Regions from separate parts of the Homo sapiens genome. Here regions 1, 2, 3, 4, 5 and 7 are each linked to region 6. The links are contacts of gene promoters, found by promoter capture Hi-C in blood cells and fetal thymus (Javierre and others, 2016). All regions are on one chromosome and are shown on one strand. Each heading gives the region's core, a stretch centred on a gene start or on the middle of the fragment in contact. The rest is flanking DNA. Distances are from core to core; before and after follow the strand shown.

The links. The method cuts DNA at HindIII sites, captures the fragments that hold promoters and counts their contacts. A CHiCAGO score of 5 or more calls a contact.
Region 1: a contact is called between a fragment that was not itself captured here and the fragment with the promoter of TBL1XR1 in region 6, in 1 of 17 cell types (M1 macrophages). The highest score is 5.4, in M1 macrophages.
Region 2: a contact is called between a fragment that was not itself captured here and the fragment with the promoter of TBL1XR1 in region 6, in 1 of 17 cell types (fetal thymus). The highest score is 5.5, in fetal thymus.
Region 3: a fragment that was not itself captured here is called in contact with the fragment with the promoter of TBL1XR1 in region 6 in 1 of 17 cell types (total B cells); the score reaches 6.3 in total B cells.
Region 4: a contact is called between a fragment that was not itself captured here and the fragment with the promoter of TBL1XR1 in region 6, in 1 of 17 cell types (endothelial precursors). The highest score is 5.1, in endothelial precursors.
Region 5: a fragment that was not itself captured here is called in contact with the fragment with the promoter of TBL1XR1 in region 6 in 1 of 17 cell types (total CD4 T cells); the score reaches 6.5 in total CD4 T cells.
Region 7: a fragment that was not itself captured here is called in contact with the fragment with the promoter of TBL1XR1 in region 6 in 4 of 17 cell types (monocytes, M1 macrophages, naive CD4 T cells and 1 more); the score reaches 11.2 in monocytes.

Annotation. Positions count from the first base shown.
Region 1 is chr3:177,824,769-177,827,584 of GRCh38, reverse strand. The region is part of intron 1 of LINC02015 (long intergenic non-protein coding RNA 2015); the gene reads right to left. Among named protein-coding and RNA genes, the nearest start is that of LINC02015, 9.3 kb to the right of the region's middle. RefSeq lists enhancers at 644-1,144, 1,145-1,645. The HindIII fragment of the contact is 1,730 bases long and covers 492-2,221 here.
Region 2 is chr3:178,088,938-178,091,705 of GRCh38, reverse strand. No RefSeq gene overlaps it. Among named protein-coding and RNA genes, the nearest start is that of LINC02015, 270 kb to the right of the region's middle. The HindIII fragment of the contact is 3,765 bases long and covers 1-2,768 here.
Region 3 is chr3:177,808,174-177,810,956 of GRCh38, reverse strand. No RefSeq gene overlaps it. Among named protein-coding and RNA genes, the nearest start is that of LINC02015, 7.3 kb to the left of the region's middle. The HindIII fragment of the contact is 2,602 bases long and covers 151-2,752 here.
Region 4 is chr3:178,172,129-178,175,062 of GRCh38, reverse strand. The region is part of intron 10 of LOC105374235 (a long non-coding RNA gene); the gene reads left to right. Among named protein-coding and RNA genes, the nearest start is that of LINC01014, 250 kb to the left of the region's middle. The HindIII fragment of the contact is 1,016 bases long and covers 838-1,853 here.
Region 5 is chr3:178,146,914-178,149,613 of GRCh38, reverse strand. No RefSeq gene overlaps it. Among named protein-coding and RNA genes, the nearest start is that of LINC01014, 270 kb to the left of the region's middle. The HindIII fragment of the contact is 2,764 bases long and covers 8-2,700 here.
Region 6 is chr3:177,196,155-177,199,155 of GRCh38, reverse strand. It overlaps TBL1XR1 (TBL1X/Y related 1), which reads left to right and starts at 1,674. Exons shown (of 16, transcript NM_024665.7): 1 at 1,674-2,035. RefSeq lists silencers at 1,083-1,462, 1,703-1,892, 2,003-2,102, 2,583-2,632 and enhancers at 1,080-1,587, 1,588-2,097. The HindIII fragment of the contact is 6,955 bases long and covers 1-3,001 here.
Region 7 is chr3:178,007,958-178,010,708 of GRCh38, reverse strand. No RefSeq gene overlaps it. Among named protein-coding and RNA genes, the nearest start is that of LINC02015, 190 kb to the right of the region's middle. The HindIII fragment of the contact is 2,131 bases long and covers 278-2,408 here.

The DNA of each region.
Region 1 (2,816 bases), core at 107-2,606, 630 kb before region 6:
GTAACTCCTGGCTGACTCCTGGATGTTAAGATACAATAATAGAGGGTTTTGTGGAAAATCACCAGCTACACTTGAAGGCCGGATCTACATCTTGTTCATTTTTTTGTCACTCCAGCATCCGGCACATAATAAACACTCAATAAATATATGCTGGACGAGTGACTGGTTTCATAAATTACTCTATGGCTATAGACTTTAAGTTTATAATGGATAAAGACTGTACTTACCATCTTATATAGGGCTAACATTGAACAATACAGACATGATAAAGTGAATGAACTACTTAGAATTTTAAGAAAAATGGAAAGAAGGGTTTATGTGTTGCTGAAGTCATATGCTAGGAGACACATAAAAATAAAAGTTCTGCCAACTACAAAAATTTATTTTAAATCCTATGAATCCTGTTTCATAAGGAACCAGCTACTTCATAATTCATCAACTAGAGATTTAACTTTTGTTATTTCTTCAGTGACATAAAAGGATATTAAGCTTTCTCATATTCCCTATTTTAAATCTCCATCACCTTAAATATATAGTGACTCCCAGGTATAATAGGTATTGGAAAAATAAAAGACAATTATCTGGGAGATTACTTAAAAGATTTCTGTTCTTCTGTTTGACTGTAAAGGGCCAATTATGATGCCATTCACAGGAGATTTCACCATAAAAAGTGTGAATGAGGTGAGGGGAGACAGTCCCAACCAGCCTGGAACGGAAATCCAGGAATACCTGGCTTTGGCTTTAGAAGAAACTGCTGTCCATTATGGTGTTTCTATTCATCTGGTGATTTACATGGTAGATGAGGAATCTTCTAAAAAATTGCAAGATGTATTCCCAGTTGGGGATTAGATCTATGCGGGAACGAATAGGGGACTGGGAATGGCATGGAGAGAAAGCAACCAAGGTGCCAAGAGAATTTGGCTAAATCTCTGTGAGAAAGTGTTCTAGAGAGGACGGAGGTAGGCCTGACAAGCCAGTCTCAACCATAAGGCTGAGCAGGAGGAGCAAGAGGGGTCAGGAACACCAGCTGGTCCTGGTGCTGCCTCAGTGCCCCTGCCCCACGAGTGTCGTAGGCATGAGCTACGCCGTGCTCCCCAGTACCACCGAGGGGTCCACTTAACCGGGTGTAACTGCACAGCCAGGAAGCCCTTCCCTTCTCACTTCCCAAAGGACTGCCAGCTTGTGAGCCGTGAGCACTGAGCGCTTTGAAGCTCAGCTGCGAGGTCAGGTCTGCTCTTCAGCAAGGTGGAGGCTGGGGAAGCAGCAAGGGCACTGGTGAGGGGAGCCCTCAACTGGATCTGTGAAGGCACATAAAGTTACCACTTGGGGCCCACAGAAGCATCAGGGATGAACTTTGCAGGGATAGACATGCCTGTGTGAATGAGCTGAGCTTACAGCCAACAAAATGTTCTTTTATCGACTGCAAAATTCAGGTTTAACTCTAAATGTGAAATCACCTGAGCCCATATGCTGGGGAAATCTAAACACACTCAATTTATAAATTATCCTGTAAGAGAAAATAGAAATAAAATTATAAATTACTGTATATTTTTAGGCCAGGTATGGTGGCTCATGCCTGTAATCCCAGTGCTTTGAGAGTAAAAGTAGAGGGATCACTTGAGGCCAGGAGCTCAAGACCAGCCTGGGCAAAACAGTGAGACCCCATATCTTAAAAGAAAAAAAAAATTAGCTGGGGGTGGTGGCACATGCCTAGAGTCCCAGCTCCTCAGGAGGCTGAGGCAGGAAGATCGCTGGAGCCCAGGAGTTTGAGGCTGCTGTGAGCTGTGATCGTACTGCACTCCAGCCTGGGCGACAGAGCGAGACTCTGTCTCTAAAATAAATAATGAATATTAATAATTTTTTTTTTTTGAGACGGAGTATCTCTCTGTCACCCAGGCTGGAGTGCATTGGTGCAATCTTGGCTCACTGCAACCACCACCTCCCAGGTTCAAGCCATTCTCCTGCCTCAGCCTCCTGAGTAGCTGGGACTACAGGCATGTGCCCCCAGGCCTGGCTAATTTTTTGTATTTTTAGTAGAGATGGGGTTTCACCGTGTTAGCCAGGATGGTCTCGATCTCCTGACCTCGTGATCTCCCCGCCTCGGCCTCCCAAAGTGCTGGGATTACAGGTGTGAGCCACCGTGCCAGGACTAATAAATCTTTTTAAGATATAAATCACTATATGTTTTTGACTGGCATCATGCTTTATGGTTTCGTAAGCTTCTCATTTCTTTCTTACAACCACTCTGGCAAAAACAGTACAGGTATTATCCTCATCTAATAGCTGAGGAAACTGAGGCTCAGAGAGGCCAAGAGATTCGACGTCGATCCTACAGCTCATGTAAGGTGGGGGGCTAGTTGGGGTAAAGTTGAGACTGTCATTCCAATGGGGAAGTGCAGAGATGAACTCCTCCTAGCACAGATCACTCTCCAACGTCAATTGTGATGTTCTTTTCTTCTCTTTTGTTTTTTCTTCTCTTCTCCTTCTCCTATTTCTCCTCCTCCTTCTCTCCCCTGACAGACGCCAGGGATGTCCTGCCAGGAGCATAGTGATTCCTTGGAGGAGAAGATGGAGGAGAGAGATACAGAGGGGGAAGGATGACAAAAGGCAGAGAACAGAACAGGACTGGCAGCAGCGCTCCCCACCTCCTCTCCTCACTCTGTGCTCTTTAAAAACACTCCCTGATTCATTTTCTTTTTAAAATCTCATTTCACCAGAACGTGTAAACACAATTCACCAAATGCAGTCATGTACTTATTGAATAAAGAAAAGCCGTGGCAGCTTTCCTGGGGAAAAAAAAAAAAAAAAAAAAAAAC
Region 2 (2,768 bases), core at 150-2,649, 890 kb before region 6:
GAGATTCTTTCATCCACTTGGTCTATTCTGCTATTAATACTTGTAATCACATTATTAAGTTCTTGTAGTGTGTTTTTCAGCTCTGTCAGGTTGGTTGTGTTCTTCTTCAGGCTGGCTATTTTGTCTGTCAGCTCCCACAATGTTTTATGATTTTTACCTTCCTTGTATTGGGTTACAACATGATCCTTTAGCTCAGTGAAGTTCGATTTTATCTATATTCTGAATTCTACTTATGTCATTTCAGCCATCTCAGCCTCAGCCCAGTTCTGAACCCAAATGACTGATGCAGTCATTTGGAGGAAAGCGAGCACTCTGGCTTTTGAGTTTTCAGCATTCTTGCATTGATTCTTTCTCATCTTTGTAGGCTTATCTACCTTCAATCTTTGAGATTGCTTACCTTTCGATTTTTATTTTTTCTTTTACGGTCTGGCCACTTTTCCACAGGGCTGCTGTGGTTTGCTGGAGGTCCACTCCAGTCCCTAGTCACCTCAGATTTTCCAGTACCTGGAGGGATCACCAGTGAAGGCTGTGAGACAGCAAAGATGGCAGCCTGCCCCTTTCTCTGGGAGCTCCATCCTAGGGAGCTATGGACCTGTTGCCAGCCTGAACACACCTGTAGGAGGTGGCTGGAGACCTTAGTTAGGTGATCTCACTCAGTCAGCCAGAATGGGATTGGGAACCTGCTTAAAGAAGCAGTCTGGGCACACTTTCACAGAGTAGCTGTGCTGTACTGGAGTACAACTTCCACCCCCAGTCAGCTTGGGCTCTCCAAAGCCTGGAGGCTGGAATGGCTAAGTCACCCAAACAGGAAAGATTGTGACCCATTCATCCCTCTGAGAACTCTGTCCTAGGAAGTTTTCAAATCTCTTTTGGCCAGAGAACATCAGCAGGGGTGGCTAAGGGGTCCTAGTTCAGGGTGGGGGTCCCACTCAGTGAGGAGAAACATATTGGGGAACTACTTAAAGAAGCAGTTTGGCTACATTTTGGTAGAGCAGCTGTGCTATGTTGGGAGATCCCTTCCACCCACAGGCTGGAATGGCTGAGTTTTCCAAATAGTTAAGATGGCGTCCTGCTCCTCCCCACCCCTTGATTTCTTCCCCAAGTAGGTGCAACACTGCTCCTGGTAGCTGGCTGGAATTCCAAGACTGTGGGCTTTATCTTGTGAGATGTTGTGGAAATGAGGCCCGCAGATCATCACTGCTCAGCCCACTGAATTCAGCCTCTTTCGTAGTGGTACGTACAGAGGTCTAACCTCCCACTTTGCTGGAGTTGCTGTTACTTTTGCTGGGAAGCCCAGAGCAGGAATATGTAAAGCACCTAGGTCTCTCTGTGTGCACAAATGGCTGATCTGCCAAGACTCCACCTAGCTGTGTATATCATACTGAAGGCCCTGGTGGAGTGAGTTCACAAGAGGATCTCCTGACCCAAGGGTTGCAAGCGTCCATGGGAGAAGTGTGGTTTTCCAGGATCACATGTTCACTTACCACTTCCCTGGCAGGGGAGGTTCCCTTGGCTCCATGTCACTCCTGGGTGGGCCATCCTTTTGCCTTGCCTTTCTGTTCTCTGTGGGTCAAGTTGTTTCCTTGATTAGTCCCAATACAAGTACCTGGATGTTTCAGTTGAAGGTGCTGTATTTACTCCACCCTCTCATTCCTCTCTGTGAGAGCCACATACCCTAGCTGCTTGTAGTCAGCCATCTTGGCCACTGAGGGACAAGTTTCTAGAATTTTTAAAAACACATTTTGAAACACACACACACACTTCTGTTTGCTACATTGATGACTTGGGTATCAGTTTTTCTGTTTGGTTGAATATGGTGCTTTTTTATTATATGGATTTCCCCAAATGCTTGCTTCTTCTTGACTGACTATTGGATGTTTTGACCTAACCCTCATTATTCCTTTACAGCACAATGCTGCAGTTCATTTCACAGCTGAGAAAACCAGGAGCCAGACAGAATAAGGGACAGCCAAATTTATTGAGGTATTTAGTGCTAAAACAGTTAATAAATTCCATGTATCTGCTGATTCCTTGCCTAGTGCCTTTTCTAAAATGTAGCATGTTATTAATGGGAAGTCTTAGAAAATGTTTTAGCTTATTTTTAAATCTGACCTCTTTTAACATATCATATCCTATTTCTAGTCACATTTCTTTAGCTGAAAGACTTTGACATGCCTTGTGTCCTTGGCAGAAAACTCAGAAAAGCCCACTTATTCTTGTATTTTATTTGGAATAACTTCTAAAAGAATCCAGTACCTGGACATGTTCAACAAATAAAAATCTAGAACATTATAAAACTTTAGAAAAAAATCAAACCCAATTTCTTATTTTGTCAATTCAACAGGCAATGTGTGTGTGCTTACTAAATATTCATAAATGCTGAGATGTATTAAAAGTACATTTATACAAAACATCTAGGAAAATGAAGCCAAAACAGACTAATTCACTGGAAAAACCTCATGGGCCTACTCAACAGTGATATCAGGACTAGAGCTCATGTTTCCTGACTCAAAGTCCAATGTTCAACATCCATTTGATTTACAAGGGTGCTATTCTGCACAGCCTATAAAATATAGGCTGGACCAGCCTACTCACAGTATGTGCTCAACTGCATTCATTATCTTCCTTTGTAGTTTATAGAAAAAAGACAGTGCTAGTCATGAAATGTATAATGCACTTGTACCTTTTAAAGCTGAAGACGTTTATTTAGTTTGCTTTAAATTTGTAATCACAAAATAAATAGCAACATATTGAGGCAATGAGCTAGC
Region 3 (2,783 bases), core at 202-2,701, 610 kb before region 6:
TGCATTACCAACATCAGGAAAATGCTAGAAATATGTATGTCGGATGAGTGTTTCTCGTTGGATTTTAAATATTTATCATTAGACTGCAGTATATATAGGTTCTTCGTTTCATCTCTCCAGAATGAGAATTATTCACAATAAACTTAAGCTTTAAATTCTTATTTAAACAATTGAGTACCCCCCCAACAGTATTTGTTGACACTTCTCTTGAGCTATTTTCTTTCTACTTCTCCGTGTAACTCATAGCCTATTAAGAAAAATAAATTTGAGCCAAAATCCTCAATTTAACAAAACAGGGAAAGAATTAAAATTATATCGTTCAAAACAACAATGATCAAGCAACAAAGAACCCTCAGTCAGAGTTCAGAGGATGTTTATGCACTAAGAGGAAACGCTGTCTTTGGCATGAAGAGGGGTTATTGAAATGATCTAATTTCAGACAAGGTACATAACTGAAGTTGTAGTCCAAGTTTATTGTAGTTCAGTATCTTTTTAATTAGGTAATTTTAAGTTTATAGTTTTGAATCATCAGGGAAAAAAATTGCAACATAGTCTGTTTAGAGTCAAGGCATGCTGCTGACACATTCAAAAAGTCCCGAACCTTCATAAATAAACACTGCCAATGTTTATTTCAAAACATCTGAGAACAAGGAAAGAAGAGATTCTCTGAATGCTTCAGATTGGAACTGTTTGTGCTGAGTCATCTTTATCTGTAGATCCCTTCTGAGATACAGTGGAGTGTGTTCAGTACCTACCAAATGCACAGATACGAATAATTATGGAAGGAGAATCTCATTACAAAACTTTTTTTCTACCTAAAACACTGCCAAAAAAATCTGGAAAAATAATTTTCTCTATAACTAGGTAAAATGGTTTTTATTTTCAGGGCTCTTAGAAATAACTTTTTCGAAGAGAAAACTTATATAAATTGAATCTGGAATCTTGTTTCTTCATTTCTCTTACATTTGGTGGGGAGGTTTTTGTTTGTTTGTTTTTTGTTTGTTTGTTTTAGACTTACCATGACTTTATAAATTGAGTCTATAAGGCTAGCTTCTGAGGTTATTTCTCTCTACCTCGTAGAAACTGATTCAGTGGTTTTCACCAAGTAAATGGTGGGGATATTTTGACTTCACTGGCCAAACCACTGGACAATACCTTAGCCTTGCTAAAGGGAAAATAGCAAACAATTTTCTGTTAGTATGTGTTATTCCACAGGAAAAGATTATGAAAGCTGTAACTTTTGTCATTCTATAGCTAGTGTACAGTCTCACAAATATTATTAGTATTACCTCTCAGAGTTTAATTAAATATTATGTTCATGTCCAGGAATAAACAGAAAATAACATTGTACACATCCTGAAATTTTCCTTTTAATAAGCTGTCCAAAGGTATATGCATTGTTCTCAGAGGTCGGGACTTGAAAGCAGCTTATGTGATTTTCTCTCATTTCCTTCATGCAATTCAGCATTCCAGAAACATTTATTATCAATTAGTATTGAGAGGTGACAGCGTGCTGTCAGCCCTCGCAGCCCTCGCTCGCTCTGGGCACCTCCTCGGCCTTGGCGCCCACTCTGGTCGCACTTGAGGAGCCCTTCAGCCTGCCGCTGCACTGTGGGAGCCCCTTTCTGGACTGGCCAAGGCCTGAGCCGGCTCCCTCAGCTTGCCGGGAGGTGTGGAGGGAGAGGCGTGGGTGGGAACCAGGCTGCCCAGGGCACTTGCGGGCCAGCCGAGTTCCGGGTGGGCATGGGCTCCGCGGGCCCCACACTCAGAGTGGCCGGCCAATCCCGCTGGCCCCGGGCAGTGAGGGGCTTAGCACCTGGGCCAGCAGCTGCTGTGCTCGATTTCTCACCGGGCCTTAGCCGCCTCCCCACAAGCAGGGCTAGGGACCCGCAGCCTGCCATGCCTGAGTCTCTCCCTCCTCCCCCCGCCCCCGCCCCCACCCCCGTGCCCAGAGGAGCACCGCCCCCTGCTCCACGGTGCCGGGTCCCATCGACCGCCCAAGGGCTGAGGAGTGCGGGTGCATGGCTGGCAGGCAGCTCCACCTGCAGCCCCGGTGCAAGATCCACTGGGTGAGGCCAGCTGGGCTCCTGAGTCTAGTGGGGACTTGGAGAACCTTTGTGTCTAGCTAAGGGATTGTGAGTGCACCAATCAGCACTCTGCCTAGCTCAAGGTTTGTCACACCAATCAGCACCCTGTGTCTAGCTCAGGGTTTGTGGATGCACCAGTTGGCACTCTATCTAGCTAATCTGGTGGGCACTTGGAGAATCTTTATGTCTAGCTAAGGGATTGTGAATGCACCAGTTGGCACTCTGTGTCTAGCTCAAGGTTTGTAAATGCACCAATCAGTGCTCTGTGTCTAGCTAATCTGGTGGGGACTTGGAGAATCTTTGTGTCTAGCTAAGGGATTGTGAATGCACCAATTGGCACTCTGTATCTAGCTCAAGGTTTGTAAATGCACCAATCAGCACTCTGTCTAGCTTAGGGTTTGTAAATACGCCAATCGGCACTCTGTATCTAGCTCATCTAGTGGGGAGGTGGAGAACTTTTGTGTCTAGCTCATGGATTGTAAACACACCAATCAGCACCCTGTCAAAATGGACCAATCAGCTCTCTGTAAAACAGACCAATTGGCTCTCTGTAAAATGGACCAATCAGCAGTATGTGGGTGAGGCCGGATAAGAGAATAAAAGCAGGCTGCCTGAGCCAGCAGTGGCAACCCTAGGGCCCTGTCCCATTCCAGACTGTGGAAGCTTTGTTATTCGTTCTTTGCAATAAATCTTGCT
Region 4 (2,934 bases), core at 96-2,595, 980 kb before region 6:
CAGAAACAACGTTGAGTGAAGGTTAGTCATTACAATTGTCAGGATAATTGTGAGTAGAATTCCTTGAAATCATTGTTCTTTGCCAAAGGACAGAGGGAGCTAGTAGATTAGAACACACTATCTCTGATATTATAACCTTTGCTTAGGGAACTACCTACAATTCAAACTTTATTTTTACTTTCAAGTTCCTTCTATAACTCCTAATATCCAAGAATTGTCTTTGTTTGTTTTGATTATTTCCTGTAACTGACTAATTACCCTCACCATTTGCTATTGCCTACTGGATATAAACACATAAGCCCATGGTTAGGATAAATCATTAAAAGTCACAGAAACTGCCTTTCTTTGGTCTGGGTTTATATTCACTTGTAGATAAAACGAGGAGGCTTAAGTACATTTTCAAGGTCCTTTCTAGATCTGCAAATTCATGATGATATGGAACCAATGCCTCTAATGCTAACAATAAATTCATGGAAGTGTTCTGTCATAAATTCCTTTTTAGTGCTATTGGATTTATTGTTAGGTAACTCATATTCAGCATGAATAAGGACACCCTGCCTTGAGACCTCTGTAAATAACTCATCCAACCACTGCAGGGTTCATCCAACTTTACAGGATGTTTTCTGCAGGAATGTTCAATAAATAGTTACTGATATATCCTTGAGTACATGAATGTTTTTGAAACCCCGATGCTTCTTTCTATTTCACAGTGGGAACAATCAGGATGGACTCTTGAAATTGCTTTTACAGTTTTATGACTTGTTTGGAACTCTTCATTCCACTCTCAAAGAAAAATGGGCATATTCAAGTTCACCTAAGATGAACTCCTGTAAAGCTTTCCACTCAAATGATTGAGTGATGTTAAGCAGTATCATGCACAAGAAATGGACTTTGGCAAGATATTTGTATTGATTGCCCTTGGAGTGTAGAAAAGGGTTAAGGCAATGAGAGAATAAAGAAGAGTTGGATTACTTGGTCACTGATAATTGCTCCAGCCCACAGAGCAAGGCTGATGCAGCAAATACAACAGACAGTATTAACCAGTTGTGAAACCAAGATAGGGATAATTTATATATTTTATTTAGTTTTGCACAGGACAGTAAAAGACTAATGTGCAGTAAAGCTGATCTGAATAATGGTACATATTAGATATTTTTTTAAAAGGTATTACTTTATTTCTTTAGGCTTAAACAGTAACTGAAATAATAAGAAGACATAATAATTTACAATTATACAAATGTTTCTAAAAACTAGTATGTCACAACAAGAGAGGATTTTGATAATTTTAGCTTAAATAAGAGCTAATGTCAGAGTACACTTCTGATAGAAAGATGTAAAGAATCAAAGATCCAAACAGTAATTGATGATCCCCTAAGATTAGTATAAAGATGCTGCAGTGGACATTACTAACAAGGAATTCTAGTTCTGAATAGGTTGCTAACTATGTGAACTTAGGAAATTCTTATAACTTCTGTGCATCTCAGTTCTTCTAAAAAGAGTAATAGAAATTGGACTAGACCAATGGATTTCAAACTGTAGTCCATAAATTCCTTGGAGATCCTGGAGCTATCATAAAGTGACTGTGAATTTACCAAAATACTGAGCATTGCACATTGTACTGAGCATTGTAAAGAAATAGAATATTTAAATGCCTATGAACTACAATGTATCAAACGCACCTACTTACTATTGTAATGAATAAAATATGTAACAATTCCTTATTAGCTAGATGACAGTGAAAAAAGTTAATCATTCTGTGTTTCAGTTTCCTCATCTGTAAAATGAAGATGTAATTAACAATACCTTCTTCATCACAGTGTTATGACTATTAAATAGTATAATTAAGGAAAGCTTTTGGAAGAGCACTTTGGACACAAACAACATTGAAAAAGATTAGACATTACAATTTTCATGATTACTATTATTAGAATTCTTTTTTTTTTAAAGACAGAGTCTCCCTCTGTCACCCAGTCTGGAGTGCGGTGGCATGATATCGGCTCACTGCTACCTCCGCCTCCCAGGTTCAAGCAATTCTCCTGCCTCAGCCTCCTCAGTAGCTGGGACTACAGGCACCCACCACCAGCCCCGGCTAATTTTTGTATTTTTAGTAGAGATGGGCTTTCACCATATTGGCCAGGCTGGTCTCAAACTCCTGACCTTGTGATCCGCCCACCTCAGCCTCCCAGTGCTGGGACTACAGGCGTGAGCCACCACACCCGGCCTAGAATTCTTAAAAGCACTGATGAATAATAGCATCTTACCACTATGCACTTTTTCAGTGAATGAATATTATAATGATTATGAGTGCCCATAAGGCATATTTGAACATAGAAAGATCATTGTTCTGGTTATTTACTGCTGAAAAACAAACTACTCCAAAATTTATCAGCTTAAAACAATTCTCTTATATTGCTCATGATTTTGTTGGATTGAGTATTCAGGAAGACCTCAGCTGGGTGGTATATCTGATCCATGGACCATCCACTGGAACAGCTAGGGCTGGAAGCTCAGCATCCAATTCATGGAAGGGGCTACACAAGGATGTGAATTCCAGGAGGCATGGTTTGTTGAAGCGGGAACATTTGTGGAAACTAGCTCTCACAGTCATTATTTGCGTGGAAGTTGAGGATGACTAGTGAGTTAATTCCTTATACCCCTTTCAGCTCTTGGATTCCATATATCTAATTGGTACTTGCTTAATGAGGAGGAGAATGCTTTTGTTAATACCACTGCCTCTACCACCAGGCATTTTCAATGCTATTTCTGTTGGCACATTTTTATTTCATTCCCAGGAGAGGAAAGCAGCATGCTCTGCCCACTGCAGACACATTTGCCATTTACAAGCCTGTAAGTGTTATTTCACCACTTATTTCTCTCTGTGTATTAGAGTGTGAGTTCTTTCCCTATTTAAAATCAAATACTGTCCTGGATTGC
Region 5 (2,700 bases), core at 140-2,639, 950 kb before region 6:
TTAAGCTTCCTTTAAGTGCACGGTCTTAGAAGGCCCATGGACAAAGCTACAGACAAGTTAAGTTGGGGATATATTTAACTTAGGTTTGGGGGACATAGTGGTGATTTCCATGAAAAGTTCTGGTGGAGGGATAACTTTGGTGACTATTGCTACTCACTGTACCACACTATAAAAGTGCAGGGTCAGTGGGTGCATTACACCATGAAAGATATTTACCAACTTCTGGCACCAGATGATGACACTGGAGGGGAATCAAAGTATGAAATACATGGAAACAGAGATAAGTCTGCGGAAAATTCTTCCAGTATTTAGATGAGTTAAAATGATTCCTATCAATGCTTAGAAAAAACAGAAGTTCCTTTTTAGTAGAAGGATGTTTGATAATGCAACATAGACAAATCTAAATGCACCATACAATTGCTTTTCCTTTTTTGATAGAAATTAAGCACAATAGAATTTGTCAAAATCTCTTTGTTTGTGAGGCATAAGTCTGTAACTGTACCACAAACAGGGAGGACATCTGTGTGTGAAGTCATGTTTTATGCATCTCAATTATCTACGATAAAACCAAAATTTGATCAACCTTGTCAAAAAGACTGAGTTATCTTTATCTTCTCTCTATAAAAATTACTACAAAATTATTGTCCTATAAAGAGTCAGTGTACAGAAATACAGACAAAAGTATTATAGAAGTATTTCAAGCAATTAGCTAGTGAAAACATATATTTTTCTAATTTTGTGAGATTTAAGGGATTTTTCAGCATTTAAAAATTGTAATTATTATTTCTCTTTTCAGTCTAAATATTCACTCTTGAACCTAATTTTGTTTTGTAACTGTGCAATTTTTTAAAAAATAGCCCCTCTCTTCCAAAGCGTTAAACGTTAGGCTTATGAAACCTAAATCCACTCACGCTTCTGTTTGAAGACAGAGATAACAAAGATGAAATTCAAGGACATTATGTCTTTCTGAGAACCACATATATTTGGATATATTAAATAAGCACATGCCAGACACTATAGAAAGGTAATTGTCAGGTAGACAAAGGGGTAATCCCTTCACTTTCCATCTTCTTCACATGGACTGGTGTAGATAACCTCTAGACCTTCTGGTCTACTTTTCCCTTACAGACTTTCCTTAGCTCTTATGTAAATTTCTCATGTTCAGATTAGCCACTGTTGTTGTGACCCAGAAAATTATCATAGCCATGTCACAATATTTAAAATGTTCTCGCTATTTCAAGTGAGGCATACTTAACATACATTGTGGGTTTTGTTTTATTTATTTATTTATTTATTTTTGTTTGGAAAGAATCTTTTAAAGCATCCTTGGTTATAAGTTAGCCAAAGCCTTATTTGCCACTTCATATCTCACAAATGCACCAAAATTTTTTGTCTTTCAAATTCTATTCTTAAAAGTGTGATGAAAGTCTGTGAAGAAAATGGCTGTAAAATGGTGCATATTGCTACTCCTGATGAGATTTTAAAGCCTAGTTTCTTCTCAAAGAAGATCTTAAAGTCAATACTGAAATGGAAAATCTAAACCAGATGCTATTCTGCCTATGTTCTATCAGGGAAATTGGCAAATTATGATTGTCAAATTCTTATTACTGGAAGTGCTAAAAAGAACATAATTTAATGTTCAGATCCCTTGATGCAATTTGAGAAAGGTTCTATGGACATTACAACAATTGGATCCAAGAATATTAACCTTAAAACACCTGGGTGTTGGTTCATTTTCTAAGTGCCACTAGGTATCTATACAAAATATTGTTATGTTTTCAAATTATTAACTGTGTTTCGAAAGACTGTGTGTGTATACACACACACATATACATATACACCCACAATTTGTGTATATATACATATACTATATATACACACTTATGTATGTATACATATGTGTGAAACAATATACACAACTTATATGTGTGTGTATATATACATACTTGTGTGTGTGTATATATATATACACATTGAAACAATAATATAAATTGTGAATTGATAATACTGTAAGGAGTGCTGTACACTTAAACAATGAGAAACAAAAGTCTCAGCATCTAGGGACAGAAAGGTAAAGTTCTTAAAGAATGTGAGTTTTGTTTTGTGCTGGATCTCATGAGACATGATGGGCAATGATTATTCAGAGAGCATAATTTCAAAGATTAAAGTAGTACAAATAAACAAATTTTATTAATTTTTTTAAAAATTTATTATCTGGGGAGGGATTGTAAAATGGAAATGCCAAAAACAGATGCAAAGAACTGTTCAAGGATAAGTCAATTTGGCCTCCTTATATGTTAATCCAGGTTTGTGTCATGGCTTCCCAATGATGTGCTGGTAAACATTTAGCAAGCAGCTCTCTGGGGAAGAAAAAACTAAATAAAACAAACAAACAAAAACCCCTTCTTTGTAGTGTTGCCAATTCCCTTGGTATAAATACAACCACATAACTGATGTCAAGATACCAGCTTATACAGAGTTGGGGAGATCTGTGCAGCTGCAGATGATTGTATAGAATTTCCACCATACAAATACAATAAATGTAAATAATCTCAAGAACAAAAAGTAAAATGTAAAATAAGTAGGAATTACTGAGTTTTGACTATTATCTATCTTTTTTATATGATTTATCTAATTGTATGGCTATATAATTTAATTTTAATAATGATTGTGTTTGACAATCAGCTCACAAAATTTAAA
Region 6 (3,001 bases), core at 425-2,924:
TCTAAGGACACACCACTAATATGCTTTGAACTCTCTGGTGGTTGGAAGGGAGTTTCCAATCCCACTCCCTTTCCTCTGATGGTTTTCCTGCTCCCTGCCCCACTAGGTCATTCAGGAAAGGCCTCTGGCAGCTCCCCCAAGCAAGGGCTCAGGGGGGAAAGAGACATTGACCTTGGCCAAGAAAGCACCTGTCTAATTACTGAACTTATTAGGCCACCAGGAGTCCAGACTGGTGCAAGTTACGAGTAGTGTGTGTGTGTGTGTGTGTGTGTGTGTGTGTGTGTGTGTGTCGCAAAACTTCAGGTTTCTGATATTGAGAGGAAATGATGGTTGCTTTAAAGTGATCACTACATCTATTTTCAAATATTCTGATGAAAGTAGGAAAACAGAACCCTTCACCTTTAAGAAAGCTGCAAACATTATTTTGCTTTGAAGGCAGTAATAAGCGAAATAACAAAAAGGTTTCAAGTCGTATCTTAATGTAAAAGGGTGGCTGCTTCTCCAGTCCTGAGCTTATACAAAGCTCTAAAAAGCACCCTACCCCATCTTTCTGAAAGTCTTAGAAAGATTACCACCCCATTTGCTTTAAAACCTGTGAGGTGCCTCCCTTCTTTAAAAACAACCCTCCCTCAACCATACTGCCACATTATCACTCATCTAAGTTATACTTTATAAACCGCCTTGCTGTGCTTCACACATGCAAAAAGTACACAAAGTGGATAAACTTCTACTGTGGATGCCACTGTGCAGGTATATATTTAGTAAACATTTAGTTACATTATTTTATTTTTGTGAAATAAGAACTGATCGAGCAAACCTTTCAAACAGACCCACCAGATGATAAATACCACCATATGCTTGATTCACAGTACATTTGGGCATAAATACTTCAATTACAGCTTTGTGTTTAGTATCAAAAACCTTTTCTTGTGTGCGTGTTTTCTCTCCAGATCCCGTGCTCTGGATCACATTTTGAAAGTCGCTTATTACAGATAAAGCACCTTTCCAGGTACGCTTCGGAGAACCATATGTATTTACGCACACAAAGGTGTTCACAGAGATTTTCACAAACAAATGTCCATATGATGCCGCGCCGCACTCCCCCACATGCCCGCCGCGTGTGCGCCCAGCCCCCAACGCCGCCGGGCCGCCCCCCGGACACGCGGGAGCCCGCGGCGTCCTTGGGGAAACTTCGCCGGCGGCTCCACCCCGGCCACCGCGCGGGCCTCCCCGCCCCCACCCGTCTCGGGCCCAGCGGCCCACACCCGAGCACACCCAGGCCGGCCCGCGGCGGTGGGGGCGGGGCGGGCGGCCCGGGGCCCCGAGGCGCCTTCGAGTGCCCGCGGGGCTCGCCTGATTTTTAAAAGAATGCGCCGCACAGCCCAGCCCCCAGTGCCGCCAGAGCGGGCCGGGAAGGAGAGGAGCGCGGCCGCTGGAGCCCCCCCGCCGCGCCGCCGCCGCCTCCCGGCGTCCGCGGCGCCCCTCCCCCGCCGGCCCCTCCCCCGCGCGCCCGCCCGCCCGCTCGCCCGCCCGCCCGGCGCAGGCCGCTCGGGTTTGTTTTGCTGCGCGGCCGCCGCCGCCGCCGCCGCCGCGGGCCTCGCGAGCTCATTTGTGCCTGGCTGGTCCCCATTCCTCTCTCCCCAGTGTTGAGTGTCTGAGCCGTTGGCTGCTCCGAACCGTTTGGCTCTTTCCCTTAGTAACAGCTTTTACCTTCTGCCTCAATTCCTCTCCCCGCTCGCGCCCTTCCCCCGCGCGCCGCCTCCCCCCGCCGCCGGCCGCGTGCGCCCCCGCCCCTCCCCCCGCGGCGGGAGCACCTCCGCTCGCCACCTGGGGACCCGCGCCGCGCTCCCCGCCCCCGCCCGCCCGGCGCCCATCCCCCGCGCCCTCCGCTCGCTGGGGTTATAATTGCCTCTCACCCCCCGGAGGGGTTATTTTGGGGGTGGTTGGAGGCGGTGGCGGCGGCGGCGAGGAGGGGAATTTCCTTGTGCCTCCATTCCCGGGAGGGGGGAGCGGCGTTGGAGGCCACCGTTTCCAGGTAAGCGCTGGGGGCCGGACCCTGGAGTGGGGGCGGCCGGGGGCCTGGGCGGGGGGCGCGGGCCAGAGGCGGCCGGGGGCGCTGGGCCGCGGGGGGATGGGCGCGAGTGGAACATGCATTTTTCAACTTGGCCCTTGGGGGAACTGGGCTTGCGTGGGGGAAGGGAAGGCAGGGAGGGCACTTGGGGCGCCCCCATCCCCCCGTTTTCCTCTCTCAGGTTTCTTTGAAATGCTCACGTGCCTGCCCACCCCCCTACCCTTTCCCGGTCTCGGGGGATCCTCACCCTAATTATGTTGTCCCCGAAAATGTGCACCTCGGCCTTCTCCCCCTCTTCCTCCCTTCGTGCATTTACACCCCCTTTTTGTGCGTGTGTGTTTGGGGGGGGAGGCTTTCAGGAAAGGATTTGCAGCAAATTGAATCAAGGAGCCATCATGAGGCCGACTCCTTTATAGCCTATTTTTAGCAGAGGAGAAGGAGCTTTTCGGTGCATGCTATTTTGTGAAACCTCGGGCGGCAATGGAAATCTCCCCTCCCCGGGCGCGTCCCCGGCCCGGGCGCGGCGACCCCGGCCGGCGTGCTGGGGGCTGCGGGCGGCTGTTGGGGCCGCGCGTCCGGGGCGGGGGCGCCGGCCGGGGGAGGGGCGCGCGGCAGCCGGGCCTTGCTCCGGGACGTGTTTATTTGTAACTTAGTGCTTTTTATCGTCTTAAGGAGGTATTTGGTGGAGGCTCTTTGAAGTTGGGTTCAGGAGTGTAGAATTGGCAAAGTTATTGCCAGCTTCCTGGTAAGTTTTGGGTGGCACAGAGTCACGTTATTTTCTGACAGTGTAAAGGCCACGTTGTGAGGGTGGTTTCTCGGTAACTTCCTCTTTGCAACCGATTTAATTTTTTGAACAGAAGCAGACTTTTATTTAAGTGGAATATTAATCTTAAATGGCAGCTCGAGGGAAGCCATGCATGTGTTAACGTG
Region 7 (2,751 bases), core at 94-2,593, 810 kb before region 6:
ATACTATGAAGATACACACACACACACACACACACACACACACATACAAACACACACAAAAAAAATCATTCATTGTCATCGCAACATCTTAGAAACAATGTAAATGCCCATTTATAAGAGAGTGATTGAATAAACTATGGTAGATCTACACAGTGCACATTATTTCCTTTAACAGAATAAGGAAGTTGTTTGTTGAATAATGTGGAGCAATTTCTAGGATATTGTGAAGCACAGTGTTGCGTTAGGCAATTAATAATGTTTGTGGTAGGTTTAAGCTTCTTTAAAATGTATAATTTGTTGTGATTACTTTTCTCACTCTTAGTAAATATTCTTTCTTTAAAACTAATTTCATCTTGATAATTATGTTTTCTTTTTCTTAAAAAAAGAAGTTTCCCTGATTGATATAAACTCTGGCTACACAAAATCTGCACTTTCTTCAGAACTGTGGACTATGGTATGTAAATACATTATGTACTGTCTTCTATTTGATTTTTCTAATAGGTTTTCCACCAAAATTACTCTAACATATTTTTCTAAAGCAGCAGTTCTCAAACCTAGCTCAGCATCAGAATCAGCTATGGACCTTTACAAAAACAGAGATTCCTGGGCAATATGTAAGTCTGGGGTGTAGAAATCACTATCTTCCAAAAGCCCTGAAGCTGATTCTGAGCATCATCCAAGTTTGAAATCTCTGCTGAGGGTAGGTTTGAAAATAGGGAGAGAATAAAATTATTATTACTCTGCATTTTTAAATAAATTTGTAATTATTATCAATAATTTCTTACTTTCTTAAATTCTTCATGATTTGCTCAAGAGTGTCTCATTCTGAAATTGAAAGGACTTTAAGGAAAACTAAACCATAGGGAAGAATTCTACTTGTCTCGTGAAACACAGTCTAGCAGGATAACATCTGGACTTGGAGCAATTCTGCAGAAATCAATTCCTGACTCTGACGTAACCATGGCCTGCAACTCAGCAAGGTTGTTAATGTTGGTACCTGTTTTCTCTTCTGTAAAATGTATATAGTTTGGCCTTTTTTCACATAATTGTGGGAACCAATAAAGATCCACAATGTAAAATGTTCTTACAGACTGCTAAGGGTTATAGTTCTGAACATAACTCTCATTATGTATTTAAAGTCTAATTGTGTCTCCATTTACTGTAATTTTTGAAGTCTTAATTCTGTATTTAGATGATATTATTTTATATGTATTAACTATCTATCTTCTATCTATCTATATATTTATCTATCCATCTATTCGTCTATCTATGCATCCATCTATGCCACTATTTTCTCTGTGAATTAACAGAAGACAAATAACTTCAGTTATTTGGGAAGATTATGCACTTTAAAAAAAGTTAATTTTAAGTTCTGGAATACATGTGCAGGACATGCAGGTTTGTTACATAGGTAACGTGTGCCATGGTGGTTTGCTGCACCTATCAACCCATCATCTAGGTATTAAGCCCCGCATGCATCAACTATTTATCCTGAAGCTCTCCCTTCCCCGGCCCCTCCGACAGGCCTCAGTGTATGTTGTTCCACTCTCTGTGTCCATGTGTTTTCATTATTTAGCTCCTACTTATAATTAAGAACATAGGGTGTTTAGTTTTCTGTTCCTGGGTTAGTTTGCTAAGGATAATGGCTTCCAGCTCTATACATGTCCCTGCAAAGGACATGATCTCGTTCCCTTTTATGGCTGCATAATATTCCATGGTGTGTATGTACCACACTTTCTTTATCCAGTCTATCATTGATGGGCATTTGGGTCGATTGCATGTCTTTGCTATTATGAATAGTGCTTCAGTGAACTTATGTCTGCATGTATCTTTATAATGGAATGATTTATATATATACCCAGTAATGGGATTGCTGGGTCAAATGGTACAGCATGATGCAAATCACAGAGGATTTGAAGTGGAGTCATACGCAAAAATCTAAGACACTTTGGAAATCACTCTCCTGAGGAAGAACATGAATTCCATAATTCTTTAAAAGGCATACGAAAATTATATTCCATATGATCTAATATAAACATTTACATATGTTAAACATATATCTTTCATAAAATCTGGCAGAATCAAATACAGTTCACAAACAGTTATCATATAATTGCCTTATTTTCTGATATATATTGTGTGCTATCATTTCAGAAAACATACTAAGTAAAATTATATTTATCTTCGATAAATACATCCTGTATATTTTCAAAAGAGCGATAGAAGTCACCACAATAATTTTAAAACTACATATGGTTGAGAAAAATGCCAAAGGGGGAGGAAATTAATTTTGATTGGGGTAGTATGTTTCCTGAGTTGGAACAGAATCTTGAATTGCTGGTGGCATTCACACCTCTCCATTACTGCTGTTAGAAATTCTTTATCTACTTCTGGAGTCTATAAAAGCTTAGTGTATCAAAGTGATGCCAAATTTATATGTAACTCCTAATACAATGTTATGAAAATGATTCATTAATAAGCAATACTCAGACTTCTATGATGAAGCATGGAGTCCACATCAGTCTATAGAAGGCTGTTCTCAATCTTAAATTTTAAGTATCTTAAAAGTAAAATCAGGACTATAGTACCTCTACACATTTTGAGCTGAGAACACTATGTTAATTTACATATCATCCAACTAGATTCTATATTCTAGGTCTCTGGACAGGTGGCCTTTATTCTTTTTAAACTGAGAACAGCTAGTATGTCCTGATTTAGTTCACATAACCCCTCTCTCCCACAATAACACAC